Regions from separate parts of the Homo sapiens genome. Here region 2 is linked to region 1. The links are contacts of gene promoters, found by promoter capture Hi-C in blood cells and fetal thymus (Javierre and others, 2016). All regions are on one chromosome and are shown on one strand. The core of a region is centred on a gene start or on the middle of the fragment in contact, and the rest is flanking DNA. Distances in the headings are between cores, read along the strand shown. Region 1 holds the start of STYX (serine/threonine/tyrosine interacting protein). Region 2 overlaps NEMF (nuclear export mediator factor).

What was found. The method cuts DNA at HindIII sites, captures the fragments that hold promoters and counts their contacts. A CHiCAGO score of 5 or more calls a contact.
Region 2: a fragment that was not itself captured here is called in contact with the fragment with the promoter of STYX in region 1 in 1 of 17 cell types (naive CD8 T cells); the score reaches 5.8 in naive CD8 T cells.

The regions. Positions count from the first base shown.
Region 1 is chr14:52,727,435-52,734,074 of GRCh38, forward strand. STYX (serine/threonine/tyrosine interacting protein) reads left to right here and starts at 2,732. Exons shown (of 11, transcript NM_145251.4): 1 at 2,732-3,097. The coding sequence starts at 3,041. PSMC6 (proteasome 26S subunit, ATPase 6) reads left to right here. Exons shown (of 14, transcript NM_002806.5): 14 at 65-1,156. The coding sequence ends at 183. RefSeq lists silencers at 2,417-2,876, 2,947-3,026 and an enhancer at 6,477-6,640. The HindIII fragment of the contact is 7,384 bases long and covers 408-6,640 here.
Region 2 is chr14:49,843,024-49,850,083 of GRCh38, forward strand. It overlaps NEMF (nuclear export mediator factor), which reads right to left. Exons shown (of 33, transcript NM_004713.6): 4 at 3,117-3,242. Among named protein-coding and RNA genes, the nearest start is that of NEMF, 6.2 kb to the right of the region's middle. The HindIII fragment of the contact is 1,886 bases long and covers 3,316-5,201 here.

The DNA.
Region 1 (6,640 bases), core at 1,482-3,981:
TTCTTATAATGAACATATAATTCATATGTGATATATAGCAGTCATGTTGTTTTATTCTCTACAGGTATGTTCGCAATTCGTGCTGATCATGATTTTGTAGTACAGGAAGACTTCATGAAAGCAGTCAGAAAAGTGGCTGATTCTAAGAAGCTGGAGTCTAAATTGGACTACAAACCTGTGTAATTTACTGTAAGATTTTTGATGGCTGCATGACAGATGTTGGCTTATTGTAAAAATAAAGTTAAAGAAAATAATGTATGTATTGGTAATGATGTCATTAAAAGTATATGAATAAAAATATGAGTAACATCATAAAAATTAGTAATTCAACTTTTAAGATACAGAAGAAATTTGTATGTTTGTTAAAGTTGCATTTATTGCAGCAAGTTACAAAGGGAAAGTGTTGAAGCTTTTCATATTTGCTGCGTGAGCATTTTGTAAAATATTGAAAGTGGTTTGAGATAGTGGTATAAGAAAGCATTTCTTATGACTTATTTTGTATCATTTGTTTTCCTCATCTAAAAAGTTGAATAAAATCTGTTTGATTCAGTTCTCCTACATATATATTCTTGTCTTTTCTGAGTATATTTACTGTGGTCCTTTAGGTTCTTTAGCAAGTAAACTATTTGATAACCCAGATGGATTGTGGATTTTTGAATATTATTTTAAAATAGTACACATACTTAATGTTCATAAGATCATCTTCTTAAATAAAACATGGATGTGTGGGTATGTCTGTACTCCTCCTTTCAGAAAGTGTTTACATATTCTTCATCTACTGTGATTAAGCTCATTGTTGGTTAATTGAAAATATACATGCACATCCATAACTTTTTAAAGAGTATGATTCAACGTAATATTTGCTAATATGTGACTGGGTTTTCTTGGTTTATGTAAGACGATAGGTCCCTGTTGAGGATGTGGAGGTCTGGACCCTCTTCCAGGAAAAATTCTAACATACAATTTTGCGTATACTATAATTTCAGGAAATTTATTGTTTCCCAAGCTCATCCAAGGACTCTTTAGGTATGTATGGATACCTGGCTAAGAGTGTATGATGTAGGGGATGTAGGAGTGTCAGAAATGTTCAAAACATGATTTCTGTTACCTATACATGATTCTTATATCATCTGGCAATAAAAGCTATAACAAAGTACACAAAGGAATCATCATTGGGCATCAATAATTATTAAAGATGCTGGTGAAAAGAAAAGACAACTTCAGTTTCATAAACACTAAAGAACCAAAAATACATGACCTAGCTAATTATACAATAATTCTTCAAATTAAAAACTTCCTAGCAGGATATTATGTGCCTTTTTATAATTTTAGAAGATGAACAGTTAAAATAGAAAATGGAGTGGTCAAGTTAGCCATCTCATACTCAAATTATTGTACAGTTCTATTTCTATGTGTTGGCAGTGCATTTTATGTGACAAAAAGTAGAATGTAGGGGGAGGTTTAAGTCAAATATCTATGTGATCTTTTCACTTATAATTTGCATTTAGTTAAGGAGTGACTATCTTGCCTTTTACCTTTGTGCTGGCGGTGGTTTTTTAAAGAATCAATTTGGTGTACAAATCCTTTCTTTCTTTTTTTATTTTTGATTTTTTTTGAGATGGAGTTTCGCTCTTGTTGCCCAGGCTGTAGTGCCATTGCACTATCTCAGCTCATTGCAACCTCCGCCTCCCGGATTTAAGCGGTTCTCCTGCCTCAGCCTTCTAAGTAGCTGCGATTACTGGCATGCGCCACCACACCCAGCTAATTTTTGTATTTTTAGTAGAGACGGGGTTTCTCCATGTTGGTCAGGCTGGTCTCAAACTCCCGACCTCAGGTGATCCACACGCCTCAGCCGCCCAAAGTGCTGGGATTACAGGCGTGAGCCTCCGCGCCCGGCCCAAATCTTTTCACCATGGGTTTACAGGCATAACGCCACCACACCCAGGGAATTTTAAAATTGTTTTTTAGAGAGGGGGGTCTTACTATTTTGCTCAGGCTGGCAAACTCCTTTTAAAAGATATTGAAAGCCATCTGGTTTATTATTTTTATTTCAAAATATAATAATGGAAGAAATTTTACAGTATTATATACAATTTACTGAGTCAGCTATCAGTTCCTTTTTCTGATTTTTTTCTAGTTGCCATTCTTGATATTTTCTAGGTAATCTAAACTGAGTTGTATTTTCAAGTACTCTTAAAATACTTTAAAAAATTTTAAATTGAGCCGTTTAATTCTTTGCTTAAAGGTGATGGGTATTTTATTTTCTGTATGGCACCACGTGATTTTAAATTGAACTCTTCATTTATTAGTCATTTGGTTATAAACTCAGCATAGATTGCGCAGAATTTTGAGAGGGGAGAAACTATAGCTTTCCTTTCGGATGCCACTGGTGGGTAGCCTGTTTTGCCTGTTTGTTCTTATGTTAAAGAAGGGCTCTACGTCCTGTCTGGAAAGGGCGGAGCTGGCTCGGACCGCCCCACTGCCTTTCCCAGGACCTTCACTCGTCCTGTCCCACCGCAGCCCCGCCTCCTCCACGCCGGGTGAGCTGTGGCCTAGCAGCATCCGAGGCTCCGCCCCCCCCACCCCCAAGCGTCTGCGCTCTAGCGAAGGGGCGGAGCAGGGCGGTGGCGCGCTGACACCTGGCGGCGGCGGAGGGCGGGCAGAAGGCGAGCGTGGGCTGGGATTGGCTGAGGCGACGCGGGTGGAGGGGGCGGGAAGGAGGCGGGGAGACGGTTGTCGGGCTGGTTCCTGTGCTGGATCCTGGGCGGCCTGAGGGGTACGGAGACTCTGGGGGAGGGAGACGGCAGCGGCATGGCGGCCGGGTGTAAGACGCCCGACCCTCCTCTTCCCTGTCTTCGCCGCCGCCGCTGCTGGAGTCACTGGGACCCTGTAGTCTGCGTGTGTTAGTTGTAATCCCGCCGCCCTCCTGTCAGCCCTCCGCTCCGCCGGCCCTCCTTCCTTCCGCCGCCGCAGCCAGCCCGAGGGTCGGCCGGCTGTGTAACACTCTCCCACCCCACCCACCAGCCCGCGGGCCAGCACCATGGAGGACGTGAAGCTGGAGTTCCCTTCCCTTCCACAGTGCAAGGAAGACGCCGAGGTGAGTCGCTCCCGTGGCTGCCACGCACAGGCCTCTCCCTGTGGCTCCGGCCGAGGGGCGACCCCAGTCCCCAACCGTCTTAGCCGCCACCTGTACGGGCGCCCTGCCTCCTAAGGGCGTCCCGGGACCTCTGAAGCCGAGCGGTCGGCTCCAATCCCCACTGAGTTGCTCGTCCTCTCCAGACCCCGCGGAGGGGCAGCGTCTGGTGTACTTACATTTGAGAAGAGGAAAAGCAATCCCTTAGTCCCTAGGCTTGGCATCCAGGACTGACCTGGAGTAAGGTTCCTCTTTTATTGTCAAAGTAACAAGAGAGCGAAGTTGGTTTAGTCTCCTTTTGAGGAATATCTGTGGTGTAAACGATTCACTTGTGGGACACATGGCCCCACATGTGAAATAGACTCGGCGCCTGAAGTTTGGAAGCGCGCCTTCGAAAAGTTTCCCAAAGTTTTTTGTTTGTTTTTAGACAAAGCTATGACCCGCACAACAAAGTGTCTCAAAGCTAGCTCATCTTAATCTGAGAACTCTTAATCAGAAATCTTGACCTTTGGAGGAAAATTAATATTGAAAGTAAAATACTATATACCTTTTCTCCTGGTTTCTAATTTGTGGCTATTTTTACTCCACCTTAGATCCCTGCCTGCTGTTTCTACTCGGATTTTTTTTCATCTGTTGCTAGTTTAACATTTTACGGCATTGCAGACTACTAAATTAGAATTTTCTGGAGGCTAAATTAACAAGACGAAGATACTCAGCTATACTTTAGTAGGATTAAGAAAGAAAATCTAACATCGCTAGTTAAAAATACCTTTAAAGTAGTTGGGAAAAATAAAGCCCTATTTTTAGGAGACCATTCAATTTATTCCGAATATTTATTCTATTGAATATCTTCATTGGAGGTTCACTTTTTTTTTTTTTTTTTTTTTGAGACGGAGTCTTGCTCTGTCGCCAGGCTGGAGTGCAATGTGGCGCGATCTCGGCTCACTGCAACCTCCGCCTTCCGGGTTCAAGCGATTCTCCTGCCTCAGCCTCCTGAGTAGCTGGAACTACAGGCGCGCACCACCACGCCCAGCTAATTTTTGTGTTTTTAGGGGAGACGGGTTTCACCATTTTGGCCAGGGTGGTCTCGATCTCCTGACCTTGTGATCCGCCCGACTCGGCCTCCCAAAGTGCTGAAATTGCAGGTATGAGCCACCGCGCCCGGCCTAGGTTCACATTTTTGTTTGGAGGGCTCTCTTGTGGTATTGATGCTTGACAATTACATTTGTTTTAAGAGTAGAGACTTTGTTTGTGACTATCACTGTTGCAAAATGTAGTGCAGTGGTGTGATCTCGGTTCACTGCAGTCTCGAACTCCCATGCTCAAGCCATCCTTTCACCTCAGCCTCTGGAGTAGCTGGGACCATGCCGGGCTAATTTTTCTTTTTTTTTTTTTTTGTAGCGATGGGTTTTTTCTCCAGGCTGGTCTCGAACTCTTGGCCTCAAGATCCTCCCGCCTTGTCCTCCGAAAGTGTTGGGATTACAGGTGTGAGCCACTGCACCTGGCCCAAGAATATACTCATGGTTTTTTTTTTTTTTTTTTTTTTGACACAGAGTTTCACTCTTGTTGCCCCAGGCTGGAGTGCAGTGGCGCTGTCTCAGCCCACCGCAGCCTCTGCCTCGGGTCCCGGTTCAAACAGTTCTCCTGCCTAAGCCTCCTGAGTAGCTGGGGATTACAGGCGCGCACCGCCAGGCCCAGCTTTTTTTTTTTTTTTTTTGAGACAGAGTCTCACTCTGTCGCCCAGGCTGGAATGATCTTGCAGTGGTGCGATCTGGGCTCACTGCAAGCTCTGCCTCCCGTGTTCACGCCATTCTCCCGCCTCAGCCTCCCGAGTAGCTGGGACTGCAGGCACCCGCTACCACACCGGGCTAATTTTTTTGTATTTTTAGTAGAGACGGGGTTTCACCATGTTGGCCAGGATGGTCTCAAACTCCTGACCTTGTGATCCGCCTGGCTTGGCCTCCCAAAGTGCAGGGATTACAGGCGTGAGCTACCGCGCCCGGCCAATATACTCTTAGAAAACAGGAGGTCATATTTAGGCTAGTTATAAAAATGAATTTATACTTAACATACAATAATGTGAATGAAGAGTATGCTTTTATTTATTTATTTATTTTTTTGAGACGGAGTTTCACTCTTGTTGCCCAGGCTGGAATGCAGTGGCGTGATCTCCGCTCACTGCAACCTCCGCCTCCCACGTTCAAAAGATTCTCCTGCCTCAGCCGCCTGAGTAGCTGGGATTACAGGCGCCCGCCACCACTCCCGTCTAATTTTTGTACTTTTAGTAGAGACGGGGTTTCACCATGTTGGCCCTGCTGGTCTGGAACGCCAGACCTCAAGTGATCCGCCTGCCTCGGCCTCCCAAAGTGCTGGGATTACAGGCTTGAGCCACCGCGAAGGAGTATGCTTTCATATCCTCAAAATGATTCAGTAATTTCAGCACTTAACTGCAAGCAACCTTACAAATAATGTAGAGGAGTCCCACATTCCAGGTGAAGAAATTGTACCTTACTGAAAATAAGTGATGTGCCAAATTAACAACACAGTAGCACAAGACACAGAAGGACCTCGGCCTCCTAATTCATTGTTCTTTTTAATACACTTCAATTCTTCCCTGCCCTAATCTTAAAAATTCTAGTTTAAAATTTTCCCGGACTTTGCATTTAATCTGTTACTGTGTATATCATTATGTATGCCTTATTCCTGCAAAACTGATAAATTCTTGCTGGGAATATATACCTGTCTTTTCTGTGTGGGACTTGAAAACACACTCTTTTTTTTATGCTACCAGATGTGTGGGGGTTTTTCCATACCAAGCAGTTTTCCAGCAGGCATGAACTGAATGTCCCATAATTCAATTCTGACACATATGTACCTGAAGTTAGTCAGATCCCACAGGTTAATGGCTCAGTCCCGCAAGGCTGCCCCCAACCTCAGATGGTAATCACAAGTAGTAGGTTGTCACCTATACACTCCTGACTGACTGTAAATCAGGGTTCCCGTTACTCCCTCCTTGGTTCAGTTAACTTGCTAGAGTGACTTACAGGACTCAGGGAAGTACATTTACGGGTTTATTATAAAGGATACTACAAAAGATCAGTGAACAGCCAGTAGGAAGAGATGAATAGGGCAAGGTATGGGGGAAGGGGCACACCACCATCCCAGTGTCACCAGTAGAGTCATGATTGCAAGCTGTCCAGGTTCTTGGCGTTTTGAACAAAGAATTGGACAAAACTCCAAGCAAAGAAAGAATGAAGCAACAAAAGAACAAAAGCAGGGATTTATTGAAAACAAAAGTACACTCCACAGTGTGGGAGCTGCCCTAGCAGCACTCCCCCCCGACCCCCGCTGCTTTACCGAATCTTCTTGGGTCCAAATACCCCCTAGAACTTTCCCATTGGCCATTCCATGCTCACCTCATGTAAATGAAGAGGTGGCTTGCAATTGGTCTGATTGGTTGCCAGACCCACCCCCACATCAGTCCGCTTGGTTGTGGACAGCGACCAT
Region 2 (7,060 bases), core at 3,009-5,508, 2.9 Mb before region 1:
AAAAAAAGAAAGAGTAAAAACTCAGGTTAGAGTAGAAAAGGACATTTACTACACAAATAATCAGCAAAGGGCTCATAATCAGATTAGATAAAGAGCTCTAAGAGATCATATCAAATGTTGCTAAGGATGTGGAGCTAAGGGAATTTTCAACATCAATGAATCTCACAGACATTATATATTGAATAAAAGAGCCAGGCGTGGTGGCTCACCCCCGTAATCCCAACACCTTAGGAGGTTGAGATGGGAAGATTGCTTGAGCCAGGGGTCCAAGGTCAGCCTGGGCAACGAAGTGAGAGTCTGTCTCTACAAAAAATAAAAAAATTGGCCAGGCATGGTGGTGCACATCTGTGGTACCAGCTACATGAAAGGCTAAGGCAAGAGGGTCACTTGAGCCCAGGAGGCCGAGTTTGCAGTAAGCCCTGATCATGCCACTGAATTCCAGCCTGGCCAACAGAGCAAGACTCTATCTCAAAAAAATAAAAAATATTGCATAAAAGAAGGCAGACCCAATGTCATGCATTGCTTAACAATGGGGATACATTCTAAGAAATGCATTTAGGCAACTTCGATGTCGTGTGAACGTAATAGAGTATACTTACACAAACCTAGACGGTGTAGCCTAATACATCCACCAAAGATATGATATAACCTATTGCTCCTAGGCTAGGAATCTGTATAGCATGTTACTGAATACTGTAGTCAACTGTAATACAATAGCAAGTATTTGTGTATCTAAGTACATCTAAATATAGAAAAAGTACAGTAAAAATATGGTATTACAACAACAGTTCCAGGCCGGGCGCAGTGGCTCATGCCTGTGATCCCAGCATTTTGGGAGGCCAAGGCGAGCAGATCACCTGAGGTCAGGAGTTTGAGAACAGTCTGGCCAATATGGTGAAACCCCATCTCTACTAAAAATACAAAAATTAGCTGGGCATGGTAGTACATGCCAGTAATACCAGCTACTCAGGAGGCTGAGGCACTAGGATTGCTTGAACCCGGGAGGCAGAGGTTGCAGTGAGCTGAGATCACACCCTTGCACTGCAGCCTGGGCAACAAAGTGAGACTCTGTATCAAAAAAAAAAAACCAAAACAAAACAAAAAAAAAACCGCAGTCCCCAGCCTTTGGCACCAGGGACCAGTTTCATGGAAGACAATTTTTCCATGGATGGGGGGTGCAGGGGTATGGTTTCCGGATGAAACTGTTCCACCTCAGATCATCAGGCATTAGATTCTCGCAAGAAGCATGCAACCTAGATCCCTTGCATGCACAGTTCACAATAGGGTTCACGCTCCTATAAGAATCTAATGCCACCACTGATCTGACAGGAGGCAGAGCTCAGGTGAGTAATGCTCACTCGCATACTGCTCACCTCCTGCCGTGTGGCCTGGTTCCACAGACCAGTTCCAGTCTGCGGCACAGGGGTTGAAGATCCCTGGTATAAAAGATTAAAAATGGAACACCTGTATAGGGCACTTACCATGAATGGAGCATGCAGGACTGAAAACTGCTCTGGGTGAGTGACAGTGAGTAAATGTGAAGGCCTGGGACATTACTGCATACTACTGTAGACTTGATAAATACTGCACACTTGGGCTACACTAAATTTGTTTTTTATTTTTTAATTTTTAAAAAAATTATGCTTACCTCAGACCAGATTAAATTTATGTATTTATTTATTTATATACATACACACGCACGCGCACGCGCGCGCACACACACACACACACACACACACACATATATTTTTTTTTTCCTTTTTGAGACTGAATCTCACTCTGTCACCTGAGCTGGAGTACAATGGCATGATCTCAGCTCACTGCAACCACTGCCTCCCAGGTTCAAGTGATTCTCCTGCCTCAGCCTCCCGAGTAGCTGGGACTACAGGCACGCACCACCACACCAGGCTAATTTTTGTATTTTTAGTAGAGATGCAGTTTTGCCACATTGGGCAGGCTGGTCTCAAACTCCTGACCTCAGGTGATCCACTCGCCTTGGCCTCCCAAAGTGCTGGGATTACAGGTGTGAGCCACCACACCTGGCCCAGATTAAGTTAGTTAGTTAGTTAGTTAGTTAGTTTATTTTTGAGACAAAGTCTTGCTCCGTTGCCCAGGCTGGAGCACAGTGACACAATCTGAGCTCACTGGAACCTCTGCCTCCCAGGTTCAAGTGATTCTCCTGCCTCAGCCTCCCGAGTAGCTGGGATTATAGGTGCCCGCCACCACGCCCAGCTAATTTTTGTATTTTTTAATAGAGACGGGGTTTTGCCATGTTGGCCAGGCTGGTCTTGAACTCCTGACCCCAGGTGATCTGACCCCAGGTGATCCGCCCTCCTCGGCCTCCCAAAATGCTAGGATTACAGGTGTGAGCCACTGTGCCCGGCCTGAGTCATTGCGCTCAGCCAAATTTATTTTTAAGATGTTTTTCTTTCTTCAATAATAAATTAACCTTTGCTTCCTGGAACTTTTTTACTTTATAAACTTTAAACTTTTTAGCTTTTTGACTCTTGTAATAACACTTAGCTTAAAACACATATCGTACAGCTGTACAATACTTTCTTTCTTTAGATCCATATTCTCTAAGCTTTTTTTCCATTTTAAATTGTTTTGTTTTTACTTTTAATGTTTTTGTTAAAAACTAACACACAAACTCACACACCAGCCTAGGCCTACACAGAGTCAGGATCAAGATGTCACTAAGCAGTAAGAATTTATTAGATCCATTACAATGTTACAGGACCAACGTTTATATGCAGTCTGTTGTTGACTGAAACATCACTATACATACAGCGCATCAGTGCATGACCGTATTTGACTATTTTCTGGTTGCATATTAGTCCTGAAATGTCAAGTACCAAATAATTTACTTCTCAGATCTTCATCTCCTACATTCATAAGGCTATTCTAAATGGCTAAAGTCTGCCTAAACTCAGACCTACAGATAAAATGAAGGTTATTACTGGAAAATTTTATTTTATTTGTGTGGCACCCATTTCCTAGGGTAGTAACAACCTTTGACACAGAAAAAAAATGTTCCCCCACTCATGTTATATAGCACTATTACAAAATGATTAATAAGAAATTTTCCTTCACCATATCCCACAAATTTAACTTACCCTATCATAGAGCTCAATGATTAAATGGTAAGCAGCTTCATCACTTCCAAATTGAAAATCTACAATTCTATCCACACCAAGCTGTTTTGCACTGACTAATCTCCGACTCTTCAAATGTTTTCGGCACTAGCAAGAGAAAGAAAAAGGCATTCATTTAGTAAAAGTGAATTCCTAACCATTTGGTATTGGTTTATAAATAAGCTTCTTTTCATTATCATCAGGAATATTTAAAACGTTGTGAATAACAGTATAGTCATAAAGTAATAGATTGCAGATGATAATCAGAGGGAAAACATTTTATTATAAACACTAACTCTGAAACAGTGTTTTATTTGCATTTTTTTAAGACAGGGTCTCACTCTGTCACCCAAACTGGAGCCCAGTGGTGTGATCATGGCTCGCTGCAGCCTCGACTTCCCTGGCTCAGGTGATCCTCCTGCATCAGCCTCCTGAGGATTGGGACCACAGGCACATGCCACTATCCCCAGCTAATTTTTTCATTATTTGTAGAGACAGGGTCTCACTATGTTGCCCAGGCTAATCTCAAACTCCTGGGCACAAGCAATCCTCCTGCCTTGGCCTCCCAAAGTGCTGGGATTACAAGCGTAAGCTACTGAGCCAGGCTTTTATTTTCAATTTTTAAGTAGAGAATGATGGACCTATAGCAAAATTTGCTTTGTTGCTTTATACCACTGCTAAATTCCTTGTTGTGGTCCTAATGACCTCACTCATAAGCCACAACCTTTATTTATTTACTTTATTTTGAGAGAGAGTCTCGCTCTGTCGCCCAGACTGGAATGCAGTGGCACAGTCTCAGCTCACTGCAACCTCCGCCTCCCAGGTTCAAGTGATTCTCCTGCCTCAGCCTCCTGAGTAGCTGAAATTACAGGCGTGTGCCACCACACCCGGCTAATTTTTCTATTTTTAGTAGAGACGGGGTTTCACCATGTTGGTCAGGCTGGTCTCGAAGTTCTGACCTCGTGATCCGCCCACCTCAGCCTCCCAAAGTGCTGGGATTACAGGCATGAGCCACTGTGCCCAGCCAACCTTTACTTATTTATTTATTTATTTATTTATTTGGAGACGGAGTCTCACTTTGTCACCCAGGCTGGAGTACAGTAGCACAATCTTGGCTCACTGCAACTTCTGCCTCCCAGGTTCAAGCAATCCTCCTGCCTCACCCTCCCAAGAGTAGCTGGGACTACAGGCGCCCACTACCACGCCTGGCTAATTTTTTGTATTTTAGTAGAGACGGGGTTTCTCCACGTTGCCCAGGCTGGTCTCGAACTCCTGAGCTCAGGCAATCTGCCCACCTCGGCCTCCCAAAGTGTTAGGATTACAGGCGTGAGCCACCACACCCAGTCCCTTTATTTTTTTTAAGTCTCTTTGATGACACTTCTAAGTATGCCAAATTTCCCTTTTGTATGCTTCATTTATGTTCAAAATTAATTAATTGTTTCCACTAATCTTCTACTTCTAATACATATCAACTATGGACCATGAGCTTATGGCTTATGGTATCCTGTAAATAGTCCACCACCTTATATCCAGTTACCCCTACCAATTCTTTTTTTTTTTTTTTTTTTTTTTTTTTTCTTTAAGAGAGTCTTTGCCAGGAGCGGTGGCTCAGGCCTGTAATCCCAACACTTTGGGAGGCCGAGGTAGGTGGATCACTTGAGGTCAGGAGTTCAAGACCAGCCTGGCCAATATGGTGAAACCCCATCTCTACTAAAAATACAAAAATTAGCTGGGCGTGCTGGCGCATGCCTGTAATCCCAGCTACTCAGGAGGCTGAGGCAAAAGAATCGCTTGAACCCAAGAGGCGGAGGTTACAGTGAGCCGAGATGACACTACTGCAATCCAGCCTGGGCAACAGAGCAAGACTCTGTCTCAAAAAAAAAAAAAAAAAAGAAAGGGACAGAGTCTCTCTGTTGCCCAGGCAAGGCTCAAACTCCTGGACTCAAGCAATCTCCCACCTTAGCCTCCCAAGTAGCTAGGATTACAAGTGCCCTGCCACTGTGCCCAGCTTATTCCTACAAACTTTACTAATATAACCCAAAGAGAATTTTCCTGGTATCGTCTCTAAGCTTTTGATAACCTATTTCAATCCAATGTAATAACTCTCATTCTTTATTAAATCCCCTTCCTCCTATCCCTGGCCATAAGGTTCTTTTTCTTATTAACAATTAAAATAATATTAGTATATCAAATCCAAATACAATTTACTTGGCAATACCTACTCTTTTAGATTACATGTACCGTCTTTTTGTACAAATATTGAAGTATGACATGGACTGGTAACAAGACTACTCTGTAGCCTCTAAAATATCTTACAATTGTTTCTAATTTTTTAATATAAAAGACCCTTTAGTTAAGACCAATAAGAAAGAATGCTTTCTTCAAGACTCAAATACGGTCTGGGTATGGCAGCTCACGCCTGTAATCCCAGCACTCTGGGAGGCCGAGGCAGGCGGATCACAACGTCAGGAGTTCAAGACCAGCCTGGCCAACATGGTGAAACCCCATCTCTACTAAAAATACAAAAATTAGCCAGGCATGGTGGCGTGTGCCTGTAATCCCAGCTACTTGGGAGGCTGAGACACGAGAATCACTTGAACCCAGGAGACTGAAGTTGCAGTGAGCCAAGACTGCGCCACTGCCCTCCAGCCTGGTGACAGAGCAAGACTCCGTCTCAAAAAAAAAAAAAAAAAAAAAGACTTAAATACGAAACAAATTTTACAGAAGTTAATCTAAGACCACCTTCAAAAAAAAGACAAAAAATCCACTCCTTGACAAAGGTTGAAAAAAAACAACAATAAACACATAAATTCATTATTAAAATTAATGCTAACATTTTCATAACTAAGAAGAGTTCTTCTCCAGACCTTATAGCCCAAATTGACTGAAATTCGCATTTTATATACTCACATAGGCAGAATAACTTCCTAGGATAAACAATCTGCTCCTCCTTAACTCAGTAGTTTTAAGAATGACCTATACTGATTTGATTAAACAGTAACCTACATGTAGGGCTATCTTTAAATCCCTAGAGGAAAATCACAATCAGTTCTTCCAGAGTCCCTGAGTAATAATTTTATTCAAGAAAAATAAAGACAAAAGGCATCATTGAAAGGACAGAAGTTCACACAAAGGAATAGTAAAAAGGGGATTATTTATCATGGAGAGTACAGATGGACACATAGTACATATTTAAAGCTTGTTTCATTTCCCTATCAACAGCTTGGTGAAATCAACCTGCTGCTGTGTGCCACAAAGCTATAGCTGTCATCCCCAAATGTGAATACTGGAACAACCACTGTGATTTATCACATAATAGACATAACTCTGCCTGTGCCATGCAACAGTAACAGCTCTTTGATTTATAAAGTGCTTAACATTGTCTGCTCCATTGAGGAAATCTTTCTATACATTTAGATTGACACGTACACCTAACCCATAGAATTCTAAGTATTTTTTAAAGTGACTGACCTATTAGTGTAGTCTGATTTGGAGATGTTTACACAATCCCAGTGTCCTATTTCATTGGCCTGTTACCTCATCCATAAAACTGAAATTGTATTTGTTCTTCACAGTCCACTGAGTTGCTAAACAACTTAAATGAAATACATATTATTCATCTGCCTTAAAAAGTGCTACACAACAGGTAGCATTATTATTGTCATTATTATTAAGGACAGGCCCCAAAAGAACTATTTTGGGTTACTATTAAATAAATTAAACTTTAATAATCTGAGAATTTTGTGAAAGCCCTTGTGATATGGAAACACTTACCTAATTTGTAATCCAAAACAGACTCTAAATTGCTGGGGGGTAAAGCTCTTCTCTGTAAAGCCTCTAATGAAATAACTCAATGCCATAACAGATACATTGCCAAAGTAAGGAGCGGAGCAGGAAGGAAATGAACATGTATGGAGTTCTAATAT